Linked DNA regions of Homo sapiens: region 2 is linked to region 1. The links are contacts of gene promoters, found by promoter capture Hi-C in blood cells and fetal thymus (Javierre and others, 2016). All regions are on one chromosome and are shown on one strand. The core of a region is centred on a gene start or on the middle of the fragment in contact, and the rest is flanking DNA. Distances in the headings are between cores, read along the strand shown.

Region 1 (5,326 bases), core at 1,195-3,694:
GGGAGCATGCTGATGATCCATCTAACTCCCTAACTTCGTGGTTCTTGAGAACAAAGAGGGGACACCCACCTCACAGAGTTGTGTGGGGTAAATAATGTTGTGTAAGTAAAAGGCTTAGTGCCTTTTACATACATGGTGGATATTATCATCTATTATGGAAATAAGTGAATAATTTTTTAAATGGACCTAATTGGGGGTGGGGGCATGGGATAGTTAGGACAACAAATTGAGAGGCCCAGAAAAAACAAAAATATTTTGACAGCACCTATAAATCATTCTGGAAAAGCTGGGAGTCGATAATTTTTTTAAAAAACGAAAATTCCCTACGTTCGAGTACAAATCCTTTTATATACATCTATACACTTAGGTATGCATAAAATTCCTCTGGAAGAACGGTTAACAGGCAATAGTGGTTACCTCCAGGGAGGGGACTTGATCTGCAACAGCAGCTGGGGAAAGGCTTCTAAATTTTTTTTGCCATGTTTGTTCTTGGAGAAATAAAGATTAAAAAAGTAAAATTTTTGCCATGTGTCTATATTACCTATTAAAAATTCATAATTCACTTCTAAATTTAATGCTACTAGTTTAAAATTTCTCCCAAGTTTTGCCACATTTTGAGGAAACTGAAATTGGGAACGTCGGCTTTCAGCCTTTATTGAGTGTTAGAGTGCTTATACCGCCTCCTAGTGCCAGATACCCACGACTGCGGCTGCTCCCTGCAGCCACCGCGGGGCTCACTCTAGACCTGTTCATCTCACCAGTGCTCACCAGGTGAATACCTTAACTAGTTAACGCATTAACTAACTAAACTGTTACCTATTCGGATACTCCAATGCCTTCAAGGTGTTTTTTTTTTTTAATCTAGGTACTGTGAAGAATGACTTTACCTCATGCCTCATTCTTGCTGACCCCAGATCACAGTTGGGGGTGGAGGAGCCAATGAAATAATAGATCACTTGAATAACAGTATATCCTTTCACCTTTTCATTTCTTTTTCCATTTTAAACTTGACATACTTAGAAGCAAAAGGACATTTTTACTTTCTCAGTTGTATTTCAAACACATGTCACTTTAGCCGTTAAATTTGTATTAATTCATCAGGTGTTGCAGTAACTTTCTTCTCTGCATGTGTTGAAATGGAGGTTGTTTGTCCACATACAGAATTTTTTTACATGCTTTTATTTGGGTAAAATTTTCTGAACTGTGTTTCAGATATTTCATTGTTCTGTAGGCTATTTACTGTCATGCTGTACATTTTTTTTTCTTTTGAGACAGAGTTTCACTCTTTTTGCCCAGGCTGGAGTGCAATGGCACAATCTCGGCTCACTGCAACCTCTGCCCCCAGGGTTCAAGCGATTCTCCTGCCTCAGCCTCCCGAGTAGCTGGGATTACAGGCGCCTGCCACCATGCCCGGCTAATTTTTGTATTTTTAGCAGAGACGGGGGTTTCACCATGTTGGCCAGGCTGGTCTCGAACTCCTGACTTCAGGTGATCCACCCGCCTCACCCTCCCAAAGTGCTAGGATTACTGGCATGAGCCACCGTGCAGGCCATGCTGTACATTTTTTAAAGTAATGTTTTTATTATTTTAAAATCAATGTATTCTCATTATAAAAATATTTTGGAAAATACAGTGAAACATGAAGAATAAAATAAAACAAGCCTTAATTCCGCCATCAATAGGTAACTACTGTTAACATCTCTATTCCCTCCAGTTCTTCTAATGTCTATGTTTTTATATCGTTTTCATGCTGAATTTTGAAGTCTTCAAAGTACATTTCTGCTTCCATTTATAAATGTTAAAAGTCTGTCCTTGTTAAATATTACAAACATATTCTTATTAGAAACTACTGTGTTATTAGAAACTGCAAGGCATGTTTGGGTATAGGGGTAGAAGGTCATTTTGAACATACCCGCCAATTCAGGGTTAGTATTGGACTCCTCTACTAAAGCCGCATTTGTGTCCCGTTATACTGGATGTATATCACACAGGAGATCACACTCCAGGCTGAAGATCTTCCAGGACTTCATCCCCTGATTCCATAATCTTGACGCCTTGGCCTTTGACAAATATCTGAGCATCGAATGGACTTCTCAGAGGCCTCTCTGGCAGCCTAAGTGGGCCATGGTGCATGATCCCAGGTGAGCGAGAGGACGGTCAGGGTCGGGGCAAAAGTGCAAGAGGCAAAAGGGACGCTAGGCAGGTTTGAAATCTGAGCGAGTGGCAACCTCGCTTTTTCTTATCTTACTTTTCGGTGGTTCCACCCATTTGGGTGAACAATCTGGATTACCTCCTTGGCAGGCCAGGTTCCCAACAGGAGGCGGGCCTGATGAAGGGCTGGTGGGCGTGTTCCCGCCCAAGGTCCGTGTTGGCCCGCGCGGTGGCTGGGAGGCCCTCCCCACGCCCAACTGCGGGTATAAAGAGGCAGGCTGCGGACTCGGAGCAGCTCGGGGCTGCGCAGCGGGAAGGCTCGCCTAGTCGGTCCGCATCCGTGTCGACCACCTGTCTGGACACCACGAAGATGCCACCCGTTGGGGGCAAAAAGGCCAAGAAGGTGAGTCTCCAGGGGACCCGAGGGCGCTCTCCTTCCCCTCCCACCTGCTCTGTATCCCAGCCTCTGGGAGCGCAGAGGGGCCCTCGGACCCTGCCTGGTACCCATCATCCTCCTACTCCCTCCCCTCCCTCAGCCTCAGACCAGAATGTGCTTCCAGAACTTCTCCAGCAGGACCCCAAGGCGCCTCTGAGCCTCCCCACTCCTGCCCCACGTTCAGAGCGCGCCCCCAGAGCGCCTCTGTCCCCTCCAGCCCCAGCCCAGCTTGGACCAGAGTGCGCCCCAGATCTATGTGATCCTTGCCTCTCAGACCCAAAGGCACCCTCTGAGCCCTCCCTGACGGCTGGGTGTCCCCAGAACTCCGAGCCTTCCAATATCTTCTGAATCTGGCACCCCAAGACCAGAAAACTCCCTAGAGATACTGCTCCTAGCCCCGCAGGCGCGATATCCCGTCCCCACGGAGCCCCTCCGCATCTGTGTCCGAGGCCGCCGCGAGCGCCCTCTGCACCCGGCGCGCCCAGAACAGGGAGGAGTGCACGGCGCTGGCTCCGACATTTCCCGCCTGGATCTGCACCGCGGGTGTCGGGGCCGCCTCCCCGCCGGGTTCTCGCTGCACCCAAGGCCCAGGCGCTGGTTGGGTGATTGCAGATTTTCACAGGCAATTTGATGTCCGTGATGACAGAAAAATGTCATCCGAAATGTCAGCCTCGAAAACATGGTTTAAGAAAAAATGGGCAGAGTGGCTGTAAGATACTGAGGAAGGGCTGTTGATGAAATTGTAAAACCCAATTCCAGCTCCAGATGAACAAGTCCATCTCTTGGCTATCCCAGTGGCTTGTTGGGAGGGGTATTTTCAGTCCAGACGGTAGGCCTTCCTCTAATTTGGGGAACGGATGGATAGATGGACTGACTGCCGTGGAATGAGACTGGACAGGTGGGAAGAGAGAGAGAAGGATGGAGGGAGGAGAGAATAAACTTGACCTTTTGGTCAAATGCCCAGTCCCAGGCCTGGCACGACAGAGGCCCCCGGAAAATGGTAGGGAGGCAGATGGGGCCAGGCCAACTGTATCCTCTGGGCTGTAAGGACAGTGAGAAAGGTCCAGCTCTCATCCCAGTGCCTGCCCTGCTGGAGAACCAGCTGAGGTGTGCCCAGTTTCTAAAGGGATGGCCTCCCAAATCAAAAAGACCTCTACACAAGGAAGAAGGTCAATTCGGTTACAGATTCTAAATGCAGCATCGTGGATGCATGTTGATGGCATGAGTGGGTGTTGAGATGGCAAAGGACTATGGACTATCACCAGTCAAAGGAGGGTGAGAATTTCGCCAGTCCCTAAATGTACTAAATGAATAGTCCACAGAGACTGGGAAGGATGATTCCTATAGATATAGATATTTTTTGTTTGTCCCCATTCTCATAGCCACGTAAGTCTAACTTATTCCCCAAACTCAAACTCAGAAAATCTAACATTTTAAAGAATTATCTTTGTAGAATTATCTAAGCAACAGATGAATGTAAGATGGAAAAAACAGTTTCCTAGTAACTTGTTTCCGTGCATATGTCAGTGTTAAAACAATATATGGACAATAACATGTCTACACATTTGAGTTTAAAATTAAAATAAATGTTACAAAGTTTGCACATGTTCATTATAAACAATGAGGGAAAGCACAAAGAACAGTGCCTGTTAAATTCTGGTGTATATTCTGCTAGTTTGTTGTTGAGGCAAATATGCACTTCTTAGACAAAAATGGGCTGATATTACATATACTGTTTTGTAATACTTTTTCACAAAATGGTATATTTTTTTCATAGCACATTCCACCTTTTAAAAAGTCTGTTTAGCTTGGGAACAGAAAATCCTGAAGTCTAGATAATTTTAAAATGCAATAGAATGTAAGAGATCATATTTCCAGAGGTAACCACTCAACAAGTGCATGAGCCACATAGTAATTGAATCGCCACTACCCACCCTGCCACCCAGCATCAGATCCTTAGCTATGCTGCACATTAAAATGCTGTGGTACTAAAATTTGAAAACACACACGTTCAATGGGAGCTGCTAACTGCCCAAATGTCATGAATTATTTTATCCAAATAAAAGTTAGTAGCAAGTCATATCTCATTTAAGTGACCCTTGTTATGTTTTTTATGTAACTGTGCTGGCAGTAGTATATATATATATATATTTATATATATGTATACATATATATATTATTGTTGTTGTTAATTAGGTCATAATCAAAGTTGCAGTTTTCAGATGTGACATTTAGATACATTGCAATCATGACAAATATTTGGATTTCAAAATGACGTGTGAGCCATTTATATTTTTGTTGTGCTTTGTTATCTTATGGGCTCCCATAAGATAACAAGGCTTCAACACTATGGCTTGAAAATGTTTTGATCTGAAAGGTATATTAGGGAACACACAGCATAATCCTACCACTTTGCTTCTGTCTGGTGAAATGTCAATTGTTTCCTCTCTCTGAGCACCAGCTGTCCAAATGGCATGGGAAGGGGCAGTGGAGGGGAAGAGAATGAAAATGAGGGAGGTTCTAAGAAGGTGGCAAGGAATTGGGATGCAAAATCCTGTGACTGCCTCTCACAGATTTCTGGAATCTTGTTATTATGTCAGCTTTTGTTTTATCCACTGTTATTGGTAGTAAGTGGAACACACTGGGTAAATACGTCCCAAGTTATTCCTTTACACTATACAGTTTTTTTCAGGGCTGTCCCACCACCCCCAATCCCATTTGAAATCAAATATAGATGTT
Region 2 (5,326 bases), core at 1,473-3,972, 350 kb after region 1:
AAGGAATATTCTCTGAAACGGTATGTTTGCATGTGACATCAGGACCTAAAGAAACCCTTAGTGCTGTGAGGGGCGCATACCTGAGACCAAAGCCAACATTCTCTGTCGATAATAGCATACGGAAAAACAAAGACTCTGGTTCCTTGATGATGTCACTGGACCAACAAATCACCTTATCTCCAGGCTTCTATATGATAATACGTTTGCTAATTGTTTCAAACAGTTGTCATTTAAAAAACTATGCAAATGAAAACTGAGGAAAGAGGCTTACTTACAATAAACTCTGCACTAACATGCCCCCCCAATACTGTAATTGGTGGCAGTTCAGAACTATACAAGCTACACACTGGTCATTCATTCACTTCATAACACCACCCCACAGTATACACAATTTGATTTTGGGGTCCCCATTTAAAATTGTAGAACCAACAGAGCAATTTATAAGAATAACTGCATTGAGATGGGTGGGAAGAGGAAGAAATGGAAAGGTAAATGTGGAACTGGCAAAAATTCACCACTAGTTGACTTTCTGCAATAAGGATTTAAAATCCAAAGCTTTCAATTAAAAAAATAGTAATATAAGAGCTTATTAGAGCTATGGAGGCAACCACTAAAAGAAATAAAAATTACATTTTTTAAAAGTAGTTGCTTCTGGGGATGGGGCTCAATTACTTCGCTTTCTTATCCTTTAGGTATTGTTTAATTTTTCTTAACCTTGTATAGGTATTAAAATATCTTTCTAAAATGGCACTGTGAAGAAATTACACTTACATAACAATTAACGATGGAAAATAATGCTTTAGGGGCCATTTTTGAAGACTGCCAAAGAATCAAAGAATGACAATTTTAACAGGTTGGAACTCAACTGAGAGGAATAAGGGAAAGTAGGAGAGGAGCGAAATCCAAACATGCCTAACTGTAGGACTACAGGTGCTGAAGGTACATCCAATTCCCGACAAAAACATCCCCCTTGATTTGAAGTAAACAGGAAAGTAAGACAAAAAACATTCTACCCTCAGCTTGCTTTTGGGTGACTGAAGTGGCAAGAGAAGCTGAACAATACTTGTTCAGGCCAAAATGAGAATGACAAGGATAAGTCCAGGAATAGACGGACACTAATTACCATTTAACTTGATAGGTAATGGCTGGAGAATTTAGTTTCAGTGCCACTATGAAGTGGCATAGCATGACTTTGGATGCAGCAGCTCAAGCACTGGAATTTCCTAGAAAGAATTATCCTGTACAACTTAATAATATAAATTGAAACTCCACACGATTATCAGGGAACTGGTTTAAATCTCACCACCTCCTCTCTTTCTCATACATATATCCTACCCCATGAAAAATCTCATTAAGATACCTGTTTTGATGCTGCTCAGAGATTATGACTGCATAATATAACATACTACCAACTGTATGTCCCTATGCCATGATATGTGTAATAAGCTGATTGCTTATACATACAATGTTCTTTTTTAAAAACCATATACGAACTTTGAAGAATGCAAAGGTTTTTCTGCTAATGGCTACCCAACACATAATTATACTGCAACAACTCCACCTAGTGATGAACCAAAAATATAGCAGGTGCATGTTTTTTAAAACCTGGAAGTTACTCTATAGCAAATACAAAATTGTAAAGTAACCTTGCTATAATAGAAGTATCGAGACTTCTGGAAGGATTTTTTTTTTTAATTGTATGATCTGGCCAGGCACAGTGGCTCACCTCTGTAGTCCTAGTGCTGTGGGAGGCCAAAGCGGGAGGATCGCTTGAGCCCATGAGTTCCAGACCAGGTTGGCCAACAGCAAGACCTCGCCTCCATAAAAAATTTAAAAATTAGCTGGCTGTGGTGGCACATGCCTATAGTCTCAGCTACTCAAGAGGATGAGGCAGGAGGATCATTTGAGCCCAGGAGTTGGAGGCTGCAGCGAGCTATGATTGTACACCACTGCATTCCAGGATGGGTGACAGAGCAAGACCCTGTCTCTTTAAAAAAGAAAAAAAAATGTATGATCTGAATTCCTTGATCTTTTAATCTGTTGGGTGAACACTGAAATTAAAGGTTTTAAAAAATAATTGTTTGCATTATAGTTATCAGAAATATTTTCATGACATTAAGTATTTAATTGATGTATTTGAAGAAAATATCAAATCTAAAATTTCCATTTGGAAATTAAGATTCTTAAATTATATAAAAATACACTTAAAGAGTAACAGTACTGTTTACATTTCTTCTTTTTTTTTTTTTTTTTTTTTTTTTTGAGACAGAGTCTCGCTCTGTCGCCCAGGCTGGAGTGCAGTGGTGCAATCTTGGCTCACTGCAAGCTCCACCTCCCAGGTTCACGCCATTCTCCTGCCTCAGCCTCCCGAGTAGCTGGGACTACAGGCACCCGTCACCACACCCTGCTAATTTTTTGTATTTTTTAGTAGAGATGGGGTTTCACCGTGTTAGCCAGGATGGTCTCGATCTCCTGTCCTCGTGATCCGCCGGCCTCAGCCTCACAAAGTGCTGGGATTACGGGCGTGAGCTACTGTTTACATTTCTTATATGTCACCTCTTACTTTAAGAGTAGTTTTTATAATCTATAGGACATGGTATTAGTTATTAAGAGATTTTAGTACTTACTCTTGGCCACTTTAATAAGTAGCTATAAAGTATTAAGGAATATGCTGAAATTCAGAGTAAAAAGCAAGCAACCTCATTCAATGCACATTTAAGCAACATCTTCAATGTTCAAAGAAACTTGCTTGGTATGTATTAAATAACTGCCAAGTGACTTTGTCCTTACCACCCATTAAAAACCCCATCCATTTCAGGTAAAATTTCAGTGTTTAAAAATATATCAAGTATGCCTGATAGATCACATTTAAAATTACATTTTTAGGCTGGGTGTGGTGGCTCATACCTGTAATCCCAGCACTTTCGGAGGCTGAGACAGGCAGATTGCCTGAGCCCAGGAGTTCAAGACCAGCTGGGCAATATGGGGAAACCCCATCTCTACAAAAAATTAGCCGGGCATGGTGGCGCACACCTGTGGTCCCAGCTACTTGACAGGAGAGATCACCTGAGCCAGGTAAGTCAAGGCTGCAGTGAGCTGAGATCGTGCCACTGCACTCCAGCCTGGCCAACAGAGGAGACCCTGTCTCAAAAATAATAATAATAATAATAATAATAAATAAATTACAATTAGAATTGATATGGCACATTCCATTTTACTTGACTTTAAATATTCTCCTCTTCCCAAATGATTTCCACTAACTCAAGCTAAATTCTGAGAACTGACAGTATATGCCTGGGAAATCTAAAGAAAGTAATCTCTTGTTAATAACTAGAATTTAATTATTGTTAATATAGGTAGTACTATTTGACCTATTGCCAAATAGGTTAAACTCCTGGCGTTTTATTAAAAATCTAAGTGATTTCCCAATAGACATCCAGTTCTTAAAAACTATTTTTTTTTTAGACAGAGTCTCACTCTGTCACCAAGCTGGAGTGCAGTGGCACAATCTCGGCTCACTGCAACCTCTGCCCCCTGGATTCAAGCAATTCTCCTGCCTCAGCCTCCCAAGTAGCTAGGATTACAGGTGTGCACCACCACACTTGGCTAATTTTTGTATTTTTAGTAGAGATAGGGTTTCACCATGTTGGCCAGGATGGTCTCGATCTCTTGATCTTGTGATCTGCCTGCCTCGGCCTCCCAATGTGCTGGGATTACAGGTGTGAGCCACTGTGCCCGGCCTTAAAAACTTTAAAAACAAATGAATTAGGCTGGGCGCAGAGGATCAGGCCTGTAATCCTAGCACTTTGGGAAGCTAAGGCGGGCGGATCACTTGAGGTCAAGACCAGCCTGGTCAACATGGTGAAACCATGTCTCTACTAAAAATAAAAAAATTAGCTGGGCGTGCTGGCAGGGGCCTGTAATCCCAGCTACTCAGGAGGCTGAGGCAGGAGAATGGCTTGAACCTGGGAGGCTGAGGTTGCAGTGAGCCGAGATTGCACCATTGCATTCCAGCCTGCGCAACAAGAGTGAAACTCCATCTCAAAAAAAAAAAAAAAAAAAAAACTAATGAAATGCTATAAAGGCCATTTAAGTGCTAATATCACCTTCAACGAACAATCATAATACTCTAAGGTACACTTTTCTACTTGCTACAAACTAAATGAGTGGATGTTCAGTCCATATAATATCTAAACAAATAAATATTCTAATAAGTAAACTCAGGATTGAAGAGAAAGATTCAGAGATACTTGAACAAAATGTTAACATTTGTGAAATTTGAAAAGTGGATATGTGTATAGTATTCCCTGTATTATTGTGAATATTTTAAATTGCTCAAAACAAACAATAAAACGTCACAGCACTTCTCTAGTTCTTATTGACAATGCAAAATTTGAATAATCGGCCACATTTTACTTTATATAATATAGGCCGGTGTTTTGTTTTGAGACAGGGTTTTGCCCTGTTGCCCAGGCTGGAGTGCAGTGGTGCGATCAGAGCTCACTTCAGCCTTGACCTCTCAGGCTCAAGCGATCCTCCTGCCTTAGCCTCCAGAGTAGCTGGGACTACAGATGAGCGTGCACCACCACATCCAGCTTTTTTTAGTTTCTAGAGATGGGGTTTCACTGTTACCCATGCTGGTCTCAAACTCCTGGGCTCATGCGATCCTCTCACTTTTCGGCCTCCTAAAGTGCTGCGATTAAAGGTATGAGCCACCATGCCCAGCCTAGGTCATTTAACTGCCACATAACAATACATGTTATGATTAGAATTACACTATCCAGTATGGTAGCCACTAGCCACCTGACCACTACGCATGTGAAATTCAGCTGGTGCAACTGAGAAAGTGAATTAATTTAAACTTTATCTGATACTCAGTTCAGTGTCTGAAAAGCTTTTAAATATATATGGAACAACCTGGGTATGTGAATCTACTTTTTCCAACAGAAATTTTATGAAATTTAAATTCAGATCAAGTATTTCCAATAAACATTTAACATTCAAATTGAGATGTGCTCTAAATGCAAAATACATAATGGATTTCAAAGACTTAGTATTTTTTTAAAAAATGTAATGTATCTCCATGACTTTTACATTAATCACTTTTAAAAAGATAGCATTTTGGATAAACTGTGTCAAAATATATAAAAATTGATTTTGACTTCCTTTTTAGAACCTTAAAACTAAATTTCAAATAACATATGTTGTTCACATCATATTTCTAGTGGAGAACGTTGGACTAGACAATATTTTCTGTAGCTATTTCCTTATCGACAGACATATAAGTAGTTCTCATTTTTGCACTGTTACAAAATAGCATTACAAA

Evidence for each region. The method cuts DNA at HindIII sites, captures the fragments that hold promoters and counts their contacts. A CHiCAGO score of 5 or more calls a contact.
Region 2: a fragment that was not itself captured here is called in contact with the fragment with the promoter of BHMT in region 1 in 1 of 17 cell types (erythroblasts); the score reaches 5.5 in erythroblasts.

What each region holds. Positions count from the first base shown.
Region 1 is chr5:79,109,365-79,114,690 of GRCh38, forward strand. BHMT (betaine--homocysteine S-methyltransferase) reads left to right here and starts at 2,445. Exons shown (of 8, transcript NM_001713.3): 1 at 2,445-2,554. The coding sequence starts at 2,522. RefSeq lists an enhancer at 2,771-3,615. The HindIII fragment of the contact is 17,379 bases long and covers 1-5,326 here.
Region 2 is chr5:79,463,349-79,468,674 of GRCh38, forward strand. The region is part of intron 1 of HOMER1 (homer scaffold protein 1); the gene reads right to left. LOC107986426 (a long non-coding RNA gene) reads right to left here. Exons shown (of 3, transcript XR_001742758.2): 3 at 4,661-5,326. Among named protein-coding and RNA genes, the nearest start is that of HOMER1, 48 kb to the right of the region's middle. The HindIII fragment of the contact is 4,339 bases long and covers 554-4,892 here.